3 separate regions of the Homo sapiens genome follow, and all the other regions are linked to region 3. The links are contacts of gene promoters, found by promoter capture Hi-C in blood cells and fetal thymus (Javierre and others, 2016). All regions are on one chromosome and are shown on one strand. Each heading gives the region's core, a stretch centred on a gene start or on the middle of the fragment in contact. The rest is flanking DNA. Distances are from core to core; before and after follow the strand shown. Region 1 overlaps C1orf21 (chromosome 1 open reading frame 21). Region 2 has its middle 120 kb from the start of EDEM3. Region 3 holds the start of C1orf21 (chromosome 1 open reading frame 21).

Region 1 (3,615 bases), core at 839-3,338, 180 kb after region 3:
ACCATTCTACTTTCTGTCTCCATGAATTTGACTACTCCAGGCTGCTGTGCATTTTAGAGAAGTTCTTATGTGATACTGTGAGTATTATAAGGGAATAATATTTGATATTTATTGGCATTACAACCTAAAAGTCTTATGGTGAAAATATTTCAAAGATATTTAGAGTAAAATGATGCATGTTAAGCTCTTTTTCCTCCTTGAAGTAACTTAAAACCTATTTTTTAAAAAACACCCTGAGGTTCTTATAACTCAGCTTAAAAGTGATGGTGCCCATGCACTGGGGTGACTGCTGTTTCTTGCTCTCTTTTTCTCCCATGGAGCCACAGTCACAATTTTAGTCAAGGTTACAATGAAAGCACCACTCCTTCTCTTTGATGGTCCTCCATTCTTGTGCCTCAGCTCCAAAGGTCATTCTGCCCTTTCTGTGCCCAGCTTCATTCTGAGTGGGATTAATGTTACTGAACCGTGTAGCACACAAGTAAAGGAGGACAAATGTTCATTCGTTCTTTCTTTCAACCTTTATTGAGTACCTACCACATTACCTACTATATACAAAGATGGATAAGACGTGAACACCGTCTTTAGGGGCTTGCATTTTATTAAGTTGAAGCATTTAAAGGAGCCTGTAGTAAGAAGAGACAGATATGTAAACAGATAAGCCAAGGCATTGGGATAAGTCTCTGCCAAGAATAGGGAGGGAGACAGTGGTTCTACCCAGGATGAGAGGGCGTCAGCATGGTGTTTTCTTTTGCTTTTCTTCACAAGCCTGATGGAGTGTACCATGCTACCTTGACTAGCTTCTGCAGTTCCTTTTCATAGTCTCTGGAGGAACTGGAGTTGTTCCAGTGATACAGAGCAGTAGAGCAGGTGGTGGTTCGCTAATTTGGACAAGGAAGCAGCAGTTCCCATTGCCACTTGCTTCTCATTTCCATCATCAGTGGTCATTAAATGAAAGTGTGCACATTTTCCAGAGCGTGGTTGAAAGTCCTTTTGTATACAGATAAGCTAAATTCTGTTACTTGCCTTACACTTTGTCAGAGGCTGAACGTTGGAAGGTTAAATGAGGAAATGCTCATTCATTTCTGGATTATGGTATTCTCCTTTCAAATAAAATTACCTAAATAGACAACTACTTAATTTGGAGGAAAAAATAAAATTAAACTCCAGACTGGGTGCAATGGCAGGTGCCTCTGGTCCAAGCTACTTGGGAGGCCAAGGATGGAGAATCACCTGAGGCCAGGAGTTCGAGGACAGCCTGGGCAATATAGCAAGACTTCCATCCCTAAAAAATAAAATAGATAATAAAACTTTGTACAAGACAGAATGATGATAGAAACTGGCTGTGACAGGGTGGTACTATTTTGAAGATTGGGGCCAGGGATGTCAGAACAGTGAGCTAGGGTTGGTAAAGGACTTACTGTTGTCAGTTCAGGAAGAGGTCACTGTGCTGTGGAGAGGACTATGGCATAGCCATATGTCCTAAGCCAAAGCCTACAGAAGCCAAGAATTTAGGGCCCTTTAACTGAGTCTTCAAAAAGTAGCATGGACACTGCAGTCTGGTCTATCCAAATCATCCTCGAAACTGCAGTTTCCTCTTGATAATAGGTAAAGGATATTTATTTGAGGGAAAAGCTGCCACTTAGTTATGTAATATCATTCTGCCTTGTTCACCCTAGAACAAGGAATTAGGTAGAGGTGGCAAACAAATTTTATACTATATTAAATAAGATTTAAATATATATTTTTCAGGCACAACTTTTTTATTTTTTTATTTTCGCTGTGTTTTTAAATCAGTAAAAGACATGGGATCCTAGAAGCTGCAGTGATCTAAGTAGCAGCAAGTTTGCGCGTATATCCTTTTTGTTTTGTTTGTTTGAATGTTTAAATAATGTTTAATAAGTTTAAATTATGTTAAATATGCTGAAATGTGTTAAATATGTTTATGTTTAATTGTTAAATATGTTTAAATTGTAATGTTGTTTAAATTATCACACTGCTGCCACAGTCCCCTTGCATGAAATTCTGCACTATACATACTAATTGTAGTAAAGTTACCCCTATATCTCAGGCAGGGCAAACAACTCTGGAAGATAATTTTCACTGAAGTCTAACCAAACTTCATTAAATGGATTCTGATAAGATTATAAATGACATGAAAAATAATATTTTAACATCAAGTCATCAATTTAAGAAAAGGGTGTGCTTAGACACATTTTTAAAGTTTTTAAAAAGTAATATTCTACCCTCCTATAGTCCTCAGAATTAAAGCATAGTGAACAGGAAAGAAAAGGAAAATAATGCAACTGAGTGCTAAGGCAGAACATCTTGCCAGATGTAATGAAAGTGGCGTATTCACAGTCATGGGTTGCTTAACGACCAGGAAACGTTCAAAGAAATGCATCCTTAGGTGATTTTTGTCGTCATGTGAACCTCATAGAGTGAACTTACACAGGTTCTACACACCTAGGCTCTATGGTATAGCCTGTTGCTCCTAGGCTACAAACTTGTACAGCATGTCACTGAGCTGAATCTTGCAAGCGTTTATACACAATGATAAGTATTTGTCCATCTAAACATCTCTAAGCATAGAAAAGGTACGGTAAGGCCGGGCGCGGTGGCTCACGCCTGTAATCCCAGCACTTTGGGAGGCCGAGGCGGGCGGATCACGAGGTCAGGAGATCGAGACCATCCCGGCTAAAACGGTGAAACCCCGTCTCTACTAAAAAATACAAAAAAAAATTAGCCGGGCGTAGTGGCGGGCGCCTGTAGTCCCAGCTACTTGGGAGGCTGAGGCAGGAGAATGGCGTGAACCCGGGAGGCGGAGCTTGCAGTGAGCCGAGATCCCGCCACTGCACTCCAGCCTGGGCGACAGAGCGAGACTCCGTCTCAAAAAAAAAAAAAAAAAAAAAAGAAAAGGTACGGTAAAAATACAGTATTATAATATTACGGGACCCCTGTCATATATGCAGTTCATCGGTGACCAAAATGCTGTTATGCAGCATGTGACTGTGTTTAACAACTGGCTTTACCTAGTATCAATGCCGGCTATATGTATTACTTGGTCAACTTGAATGACCGTTTAGAAGAATTTTGATTGCCTTTCGAGTAGGCTTTATCTTACCAGTTATACCTGGTCCCTCTACCCCCTGTTGTTTGCTGGAGACACTTCATCCCTTTCCATGACTTGCCTGGCTTTGACTTGCTTTGGGCTGGAAAGGGGCAGCTGCTGTTTATCATCTATGGCCATTGGGGGATTTCCAGGATTCTTGCCCTGTCATTAAAATTGTGTGTCCCTTCCAGACCTCTCTCATCATTAGATATTGGAACATAAGGGGGGAGTTTAAAAATATGTGGACTGCTCTTTTCCTCATCCTCTTTAATTTATATAGATTTGGCCTTTTTAAGAATGTAAAGTATTTATTGAAAAAGATGGACATGCAGAGTTTCTATCCCCTCTTGACCAGTAACTCTATGGCCTTGTTTCCTTGATGTTCTTCTTAATGTTCTCAACTGTGGGAATGCTTACCTCATATAGTTGTTATGAGGATTGAATGATAACAATTAATACAGATAACAGCAATAATAGTAATGGCTGGCATCTATTGGGCTCTTACC
Region 2 (4,043 bases), core at 1,232-3,731, 250 kb after region 3:
GTTTACTGGTAACAGCTGGACTGCTGCCGGAGGCCAGTAACCTGGAGTTCTCTTGCTTGGAAGCAGGTGATGGGAAGTGGGATGTGAGTGATGGAGGGAAAAGGAAGCTCAACTCCACCGAGCCTCAACACTTGATGGATGGGGCAAAGTGAGGAAACAGACCACAGAAGCACAGGAGTAAGCCACTGTTTCTGCCCCTCAAGGGTCTCCAGGCCACCATCATCCCTGCCACTGGCACTGCCCAACCTGCCACTTCCTTCTACAAAGCTGAAATGCAGTAATCTGATGGAGGACACAAACCTTTAACTTCCTCAGTTCACATCACGTTACTAATCCAGCCTCCTACTCTCCAGCAGCACTCAGCTTCCATCTGCTGGCCAGCTCTTTACGTGGTCCTCTCCTGACACTACCACGTTCCTTTGCCTATGCTGGCTCTTGCTGTCCCTTCGCCAAGAAAACTCTCCCATTTCTCCTTCCCACTGGGAACCAAGCCTCCTCTGAGTTCCAGTTAATATTGAGCACTCACATGAAGTCTCCTCACCGTATGACCTAACATATGCCCTTCGTTCCTGCCAAAGAACATTCCCTTTAGGAGGGGCCGGGTGTGGGTGGCAAGGTGGGGTAGGAATCCCTGACAAGGATGATCCAGGGAGAATTCTGGTGAGTAAGACCTGGTCTTCAAGTGCAACTTGGTCTTCAAGAGCCAAGTTGCCATGCTGAGGAAGGGTGACCCCAGAGCAGAGCCTAGGCCAGGTGAGGAGCAGGTCTGAGAGACGCGATGATCACAGAGAGTGGAACACCTGTGTTTAAGGACATGGCTACAGAACATACATTGTAAATAATGTTATAGCATTATTTCTAACAGTAAAAAATGGGACACAATCTTAGCACCCTTCAGAAAAAGAATGAATAAATAAATAATAATGAAGTTGATCTTGTATCAATAGGGATAAACCTCAGAAATACAACAGTGAATGAAAAACACACAAAGGATACAGTATGACACCATTTATATAAAGTTTGAAAGCTTGCAAAACCATATCTATTATGTGTGGATACTTACATGTATAGTAAAAGTATAAAAACATACATGGAAAACATAAATACCAATTTCAGAAGAGCAGGAAGAAGGCAGGAAATGGCACAGGTGAGGGTTAACAATGTTCTAGTCTTTTAAAACATCAGCTGAAGAAAATATGGAGACATAGGGACAATATTCTCTATACTCCTGCGTGCTTGTACTATTTTATCATTTTTAAAGGAACAAAGAGTGCTCTAGGAGCAACTTCATGTTGGTGATAGACTGCAGCTGGTTGAGCTTTGGGTGCTGCAGTCAGCCACAGGTGAGAACGGTGACGGTGTGACAGGGAATGGGCACCACTCCTCTCAGAGCTCTGGTGGCTTTTCAAATCTGCTTCATCTCCTATTTCTGTGTCCTTGTCTCTAGTTTTCATATGTAGATGACATGGGAAGGAGACAAAGTTTTAACTTCCTCCGATCACATCATGTTACTAATCCAAAGTCCCAGACTGTCTCTTCCTCTGAAGTCCCACAGCTTTAGTATGCTGCATGTGGGATTGGACCTCAACAATTGCTTTCGGATCAGATCTCACTCATCATCTTTGCCCTGGATGAGGCTCTATTCAGTCTTCTTGGGTGTGTTACAATTTGGCACAAAACATCTTGTCCACATATATGTTCCCCCCAGGGCTGCCTGCCCCCCCCCCACCCACCAGACCCTCACACACAGCCCTTTTGGACTTGCCACAGCTCTTTCCACAAGGACTCAGAGTCCCTCAGGGGAGAGCACCCCCCAGAGTTTTGAGCAACATTGACTGACTGGCTGAGATGACCTGGGACAGCAGGTCCCACTCTGCAAATGCATAAGAAGAATCACTGAGGAGGCTTGAAATACACACATACACGTGCACACACACCCACACACACACACATGGCCTCTGACATCTGACCCCTCAAAAGGTCTCATTTGTAACTACTGGAGTGGGGGATTCTGACAAGTACCAAGTTTGGGAGCCGGGATCTACAGTGTAGTAAACAGTGGCAGGTACAGAGTAGAGCTGGAGGAGAATGAGAGCACGCAGTCTGTTGCAGACAGGGATTTCATAAGACTCAGTGAGTTCTTCAGTGCAGTTTCAGACATGCCTGCCAATAGGTCTCCCTCCAGAAGTTGGTTCTCCAAGAGTTGTATGGCTCAAACAAATGGTATTAACCATGGATAGATGCTAAAGATGAATAGAGGTTGAGAATCTGCTTCCTCACCACCAGAAAGAGAAAAAAGGAGGTGTCACTTGGTCAGAGCCACCTTGTTGATTCATTGATGGTCTCCTTTGGGCCTCTGTCATGGCTGCACACTAGAATCACCTGGGGAGCTTAGACGGCCCATGTCCAGACCTCAGGTCAGTTGAGTCAGAATCTCTGGGCATGGGGCCCAGCATTGGCATTGTAAATATCATCTCACCTCAGGCAACCGAGCCACAGGGAGTGTTTGAGAACAACTTGTCCACCCTGCATGCCACTGAGTTGGGCACCAGCAAACAAAGCTGAACAGACTAAAGCCTGCCTCTGAAGAACTTGGAGATGATAGGGTGCAGGTTTGCAAACACGTACTCCAACGGGCTGCAAGAGCCCGGGAAAGGAACTCAAAAGAATCCTTCAGGAGAAGGTGGTGAGAATAGGCAGCCACGAATGAGTAGGTTCTGTGCAGGGACTCCCCAGTGATGCATGAAGGAGCGTCCCTCTTGTTGAAATAGGACAAGAGAGTGAACCAACCCCTACAAGACCAAGAGTTCAGGCTAGGGAAAAGCCTCAATTCAGCTGGGTCCCAGATATGCTTTTGCTCAAGCCATCCTGAAGAAAGAATTCTTGAAGCTGTCTTGACAGGGGACCTGCTAACCTCTGCTGAGAACTCCCTTACTGTACAGGAGTTTTATCCCCCTGAGCTAACCTCAGGCAACAGCCCAGACCTGTCCTACCCTTTCCTGAACCAGCTGACCCCCATCCCTCAGAACACGCCGGCCGTGGGAGGCACATTCAGGCTAGAATAGGCATCCAGGCAATGAGCCCCTTCCCTATAAGACATGACCAACAAACCACAAGGAAAGCAAATCCCCAGGAACACTTTTGTATGAAGGAGGGATCCCTGGCTTAAAGGGGCTGAGGACAGTAGCTGCTTATCCTCTCTGCAGGGTCCCCTCCACTGAATAAACAGAAAAGCAGGACTTACACACCTGATGCCTTTGGAAGGGGCATTAGGGGTTGTTACTATAATGGGGGCTGCAGTGGTTGGATTCCTGGTAAAAGATCATCCCAGTGAGTTTGGTAATTGCCAACCGGTATGTTACCCAAGACATATGCATCCTCTCATGTGGAGCGGCCAGGCTCATGGCTGGAATTTCAAGCACTTGCTCCAATTGTTTGCAGAGTTCTGGTCATTGGTATGCTCGGCACTTGGCCATCAACTTGACGCTAGGTTCTCATGGCTTGCTGTCCTATCAGGGACTGACAGCTTGGAATACAACCAACAGAGAAAATCCAATAAAAAGCCATTGTAGAGACTGATCTGCCACCATCCTGCTCCCTAGTGGCCCATCTAGGGGGTGGGGATGCTGGGTGGAGTGCTGGCTGATTTCCCAGAGGCTTTTTGTGTCCACTGAAGACTCCTCTGGACATTTCTTGTCAATCACAAACTCAACCTGGGGCCCACAGGCAAGCAAGTCTCCCATTATCAGACTGGAATACAAATGGGGTTTTAGATGTAAAGATCAGGTTTGATGGCATGTGATGCCATCAAACATGAAGGAGAAACCCCTTCCCAAAGCTCCATCACTCTACAAGTGAAAATTCAAGACTCTAACAAGGCTCTGTCTTGAGTTCCCACCCCCTATTCCCAGGCTTTGCCCAAAAAAGGAAAAAAGGAAGCTTTAAATCAGGTCACCCTAAATCCTCTTTAATCCTTGAGATTATCCATCTGGTATTTGTGTATTTGTGTTTCTGCCAATACAGTGGGATTTGCGTGCCCTGGG
Region 3 (4,093 bases), core at 148-2,647:
CTACTTGGGAGGCTGAGATGGGGAAGATCCCTTGAGGAGGATCTCTTGGGTTCAGGAGTTCGAATCCAGCCTTGGCAGCAGACCCCATCCCTGAAAACAATAAAAATTAAAACAACAACAGTGGGATACTAGTCTTTTAATTTGAAAAAAAAAGGGGTGGAGAAAGGGAAAACCAGTTTTCAAAAAAGGCCAATTTCCTAGACATTAGTGGTTGATTACTAACTCATTTCATTAAACTAAATTATGAATTGGCTTTTCTCGTCAGTGTCACCACTCTGATGGCGTTCTTTTCCATTTTCCATCTTCACCCTGGCCGAATGTGGGAAATGATCTGGTTTGTGCATAATCCGCGAGGCCCAGGGAGGATCTTTTGCCCCTATTGTTTTCTTGGGTGTTCTCACTCTGGGGGCCTGACATTCCTCGCGTGTCTAAGGCAATGAGGGAGCAGTGAAGCGCGGGGAAGCCGCACAAAAGACATCCAAAGGCTATCAATGGAAAAAGATCAATTAGGTGCACACAAGAAACACCCAATATGCCAGGGAAGAGAAAAATACCCTTTTCCAGAGGGTGGGAAATTGATTGAGCTTCTGTGAGGGTCCACAAAGAACTGGACGGATGCAGTGGTGGATGGCGATCTCTCTGGACCACTCCGGACGCGCCCAGCAGACGCAGCCTACGCCTTTAGGTCCTAGGAGGCTGAGAAGGGTGGGGAGAGGGGGGCAGCACGATCTTGTGTCTTTCCTCCCCGTGCCGCCTCTACCGAATCGCGGATGCTTCATTAATCTTGCAGGCGCCGCAGCTCGGGTCAGTATGGAGGCGGATCGGTGGCAGAGCCCGGGCCTCTGGGCTGCGCCCGCCCGTTCAGCCTGGCCCGGGAGGGGAGCGGCCGCGCGGTGGGCCAAAGACGCCCGGCCTTCCCTCCGTCTGCTTCCAGCAGGCACAGCCGGGAGGCTGGGCTCAGGGGCTGACCCGAATCTCCCCTAGAGCTGGGCCCACCCGGCTGCCCCCCGAGCAGCCTCGCCGCTCCCACGCCACCGCCCAAGTGACAGGCCCGGGAAGGCCGGACGGGACGCAGTCTTCCCGCCGGGGTCTTCCCTCCGGCTGGCCGGCCGCTGCAGGGCGCGCGCGCACACACGTACACACACACACACACCTGCCCACACACACACACACACACACACACACACACTGCCGCCTCCTTCCCGCCCCGCAGCCCTAGCAGCCCCCAACCCGCTCCCCAGCGCGCTGCGCCCCGGCGGCCTCCGCAGGCCCCGCCCCGGGGAGGAGAGCCAGGCGCGCGCGGGAGCTAGGCTCGGGGAGGGGCCGGCGGTGGGGGAGTGTCTGCTGCCCCCGCCCCTCGAGTGAGTGACTGAGCGAGGAGCTCCCCTCCCTCGCTCGCTCCTCGCAAGCTCCCGCTCGCTCCCTGCCCACTCCCGGGGGGACGTTCCGTGCCGCGGCCGCCGCGGCCGCTGCTTCTTTCACACTTTAGTTGGGAGCTGCGCGCCGCGCTCAGTTACTGGAGAGCTGGCCGCGCGCCGCCGCCTCCCGCACGCTTGCACGCGGGCCCGGCTTCGGGGTTTTGGGTTCTTACTCCAAGCGGCGGGGAGGAGGGGGAGCCCCGGACACACTGTGGGGAGGAGGAGGAAGAAGAGGAGGAGGGAGGAAGAAAAAAGACGAGGAGGACAGGGGCGGGGGGCGGGAGGCTTGCCACCTTCAGCCCCCCCGCGAACGCCCAAGGTAAGTGTGAGCCATTGCCTGCTCTGGGGCGGGGGGAGCTGGCGGTGCAGCCCGCCCCGGCTCGGCTACCCGGGCATCCCCGGGTGGGCAGGGAGGGAGGCCTGCGGGGTGTCTGCCGCACGGAAGGGATGGGAGCCGCGGTCGTGGCGCTGCCTGCGCGGGGCCCGGGCCGGGGCTGCTGCTGGTGCGGGGCTGGCGGGGTTGCTGCCAGGGACGGAAGCTGGGGTGGGGGAGCCGCGAGGGGCGTCTGCCGGCCTGGGCGGAGGGGCTGGGATGTGGTCGGGGCTGCTGACGACTTTCGTCACATCGAGGCCTGGGTGGCTGGTGTTAGACACCCCTCCCTTCCCACCCGCACCCTGCCGCCCTCAGCCTTCCTGCTCTCCTCTAGCTTTGCATGTAGCCACCGTACTTTGCAAGCCAGAGCTTGAAAGGAAAAACACAATTTAGGATCCTTTGCTAAGTATCCAAGTCCCTTCTCTCGCTCCGACTGATTGATGTGTTTGTGTGGGTGGTTTGACCCCCGGGATTTCTGAAGTTTTGACCTTTTTGGGGTGGCTCGTTTCGTTGCATCTGTTTGCCCACCTCGGTGTATTTATTATTCGTGCCCATGCGAGGCAGCCAGAGGGTGCTTGGTTATTGTACACGAAACAGATTTCACTCTCCTCTGCAGGCAGTTCGCGAAGTGCCGCCGCCGCGGCTGCCTTTGGTCTGCTGGTTAATGTCCTTTCCCTATCATCCACCCTGCTCCCTCCCTCTACGGAGGGTTAGTTTTTGTTTTTGTTTTTGTTTTTTCCTTTCCACTTACTGTTTGTGTGAGAGAAGTCCTGGGCTTAAGGGCTCTCAGCACTCGTTCATTTCTCTTCTAAAGCTCTGAATGGCTCAGGCATGTCGGTAAAATTTGGGGTGGTCCTCTTTGCTCCAAGAGTTGCATGGCCAAAGATAAAAATATGCACACATAAACACGCATTAATTCTGAGAGACGGCAAGCAGTTTGAGAGAGAAATAATTTGTTTTCAATAGGAAGTCGGTGACCTATGGGATCTCTTCCATTGCCGGTGGGTTAGGAAAATTGTTTTAAAATAGATAGTGCTTGTGTTGTCCGTGGCTGGAAGACAGCCATAGTTCAGTTACTGAAGCAATTCTGAAAGTGATACACCCTGGGCACCCAGAACCTCAGTAAAGACACACGTAGTCTGACTCAGATGTTAGGAAGGGGACTGACACACCATAGATTCCATGGAGTATTTTTTTCTTTCTTTTCTTTTTTTTTTTTGTAGGAGACTGTCCAGACCGTTTGGGGAAATGACAAGTTCATTACACAGACAGATGTAATGAACACCTCCCTATTCAAGGGGATGGGTTCAGCTTCTGCCTAATAGGAATAACCTTTTGATTTGATAGAATTGGAATGTACCAGGATAGAAACAAACATAGGTGGAGTGGGCCTGAGCTACTTCAGCACTGTTGTGGGGAGAAGGTGATGTTTCTGAAGGGTCTTTTAAGTTCAAGATGCTGAATTTGGAGTTTTCCCCCCTTTTTCATATTGTCTAGAGCTGGATTGTAGGATCAATAGAACATGTTCCATGTTGGCTGTTTGGAAATGTAATTGTCAGACATGGAAATTAATTTGGATTGGATCACCTATTTTTGTTTTGCTACTTACAAAGTAGGAAGTACCAGTGATAGGACAACGGAGTGTATTTATAGGCGTTAAACCAATGCTGGGACTGGTACTTCACAGATCACAAATGCAGCGTTGAAAGAGGATGTCACTCAATGTTTACTGCTGTGCAAACCTGCTTCAGAGAACAGTCCTGGAGGCTTCTAAAAAGGGCAACAAAGACCAGTGCGCTCAGCTCTTGGGTGGGTGGGTGCCTGAGGAGGGGCGGGGTGCTTCTGTTGTCTAGCTTTGTCACAACTGGGCATGTTTCCAAAGAAAAATGGCCTTGGGTGGTAGAGAGGTCTCACATCCTCCAGTGTTAAAAGTTCATCCTAGAAGGACCTTAAAGTTCCAGCTTTCCTTCTCAGGGTTGACTTAATTTAACTCCGAGTTTAGAAAACTGATAATTTTGTTTTCTTGGCTAGACATTTATCCCTCCTCCGCCCCATCTCACTTTATCATTCAACATGGGTTTCTGGGAATTAATAGGCCACTGTCTGAAGGGGTTTGATTCTTGAAGAATCACAGGGCATCATTCAAGAGCTTTGGTACTATTTGCTATGACTTATTCAAAAATCCTACTAAGGAGGAAGGTGGTTTGCTCTATTATAATTTCCAAGTGAATCATGCCTCAGTACTGTGTTGCCTTTGTGACCAGGCAAGCTTTGAGTTTTACATTCTGAGTGGCTTGCTCCA

Evidence for each region. The method cuts DNA at HindIII sites, captures the fragments that hold promoters and counts their contacts. A CHiCAGO score of 5 or more calls a contact.
Region 1: a contact is called between a fragment that was not itself captured here and the fragment with the promoter of C1orf21 in region 3, in 2 of 17 cell types (M1 macrophages and megakaryocytes). The highest score is 6.1, in M1 macrophages.
Region 2: a contact is called between a fragment that was not itself captured here and the fragment with the promoter of C1orf21 in region 3, in 3 of 17 cell types (M1 macrophages, M0 macrophages and megakaryocytes). The highest score is 6.3, in M1 macrophages.

Annotation. Positions count from the first base shown.
Region 1 is chr1:184,568,409-184,572,023 of GRCh38, forward strand. The region is part of intron 3 of C1orf21 (chromosome 1 open reading frame 21); the gene reads left to right. Among named protein-coding and RNA genes, the nearest start is that of C1orf21, 180 kb to the left of the region's middle. The HindIII fragment of the contact is 8,987 bases long and covers 1-3,615 here.
Region 2 is chr1:184,630,501-184,634,543 of GRCh38, forward strand. No RefSeq gene overlaps it. Among named protein-coding and RNA genes, the nearest start is that of EDEM3, 120 kb to the right of the region's middle. The HindIII fragment of the contact is 2,912 bases long and covers 1,026-3,937 here.
Region 3 is chr1:184,385,632-184,389,724 of GRCh38, forward strand. C1orf21 (chromosome 1 open reading frame 21) reads left to right here and starts at 1,398. Exons shown (of 6, transcript NM_030806.4): 1 at 1,398-1,737. C1orf21-DT (C1orf21 divergent transcript) reads right to left here and starts at 1,073. Exons shown (of 1, transcript NR_172919.1): 1 at 122-1,073. RefSeq lists silencers at 884-943, 1,034-1,143, 1,174-1,433. The HindIII fragment of the contact is 4,352 bases long and covers 1-4,058 here.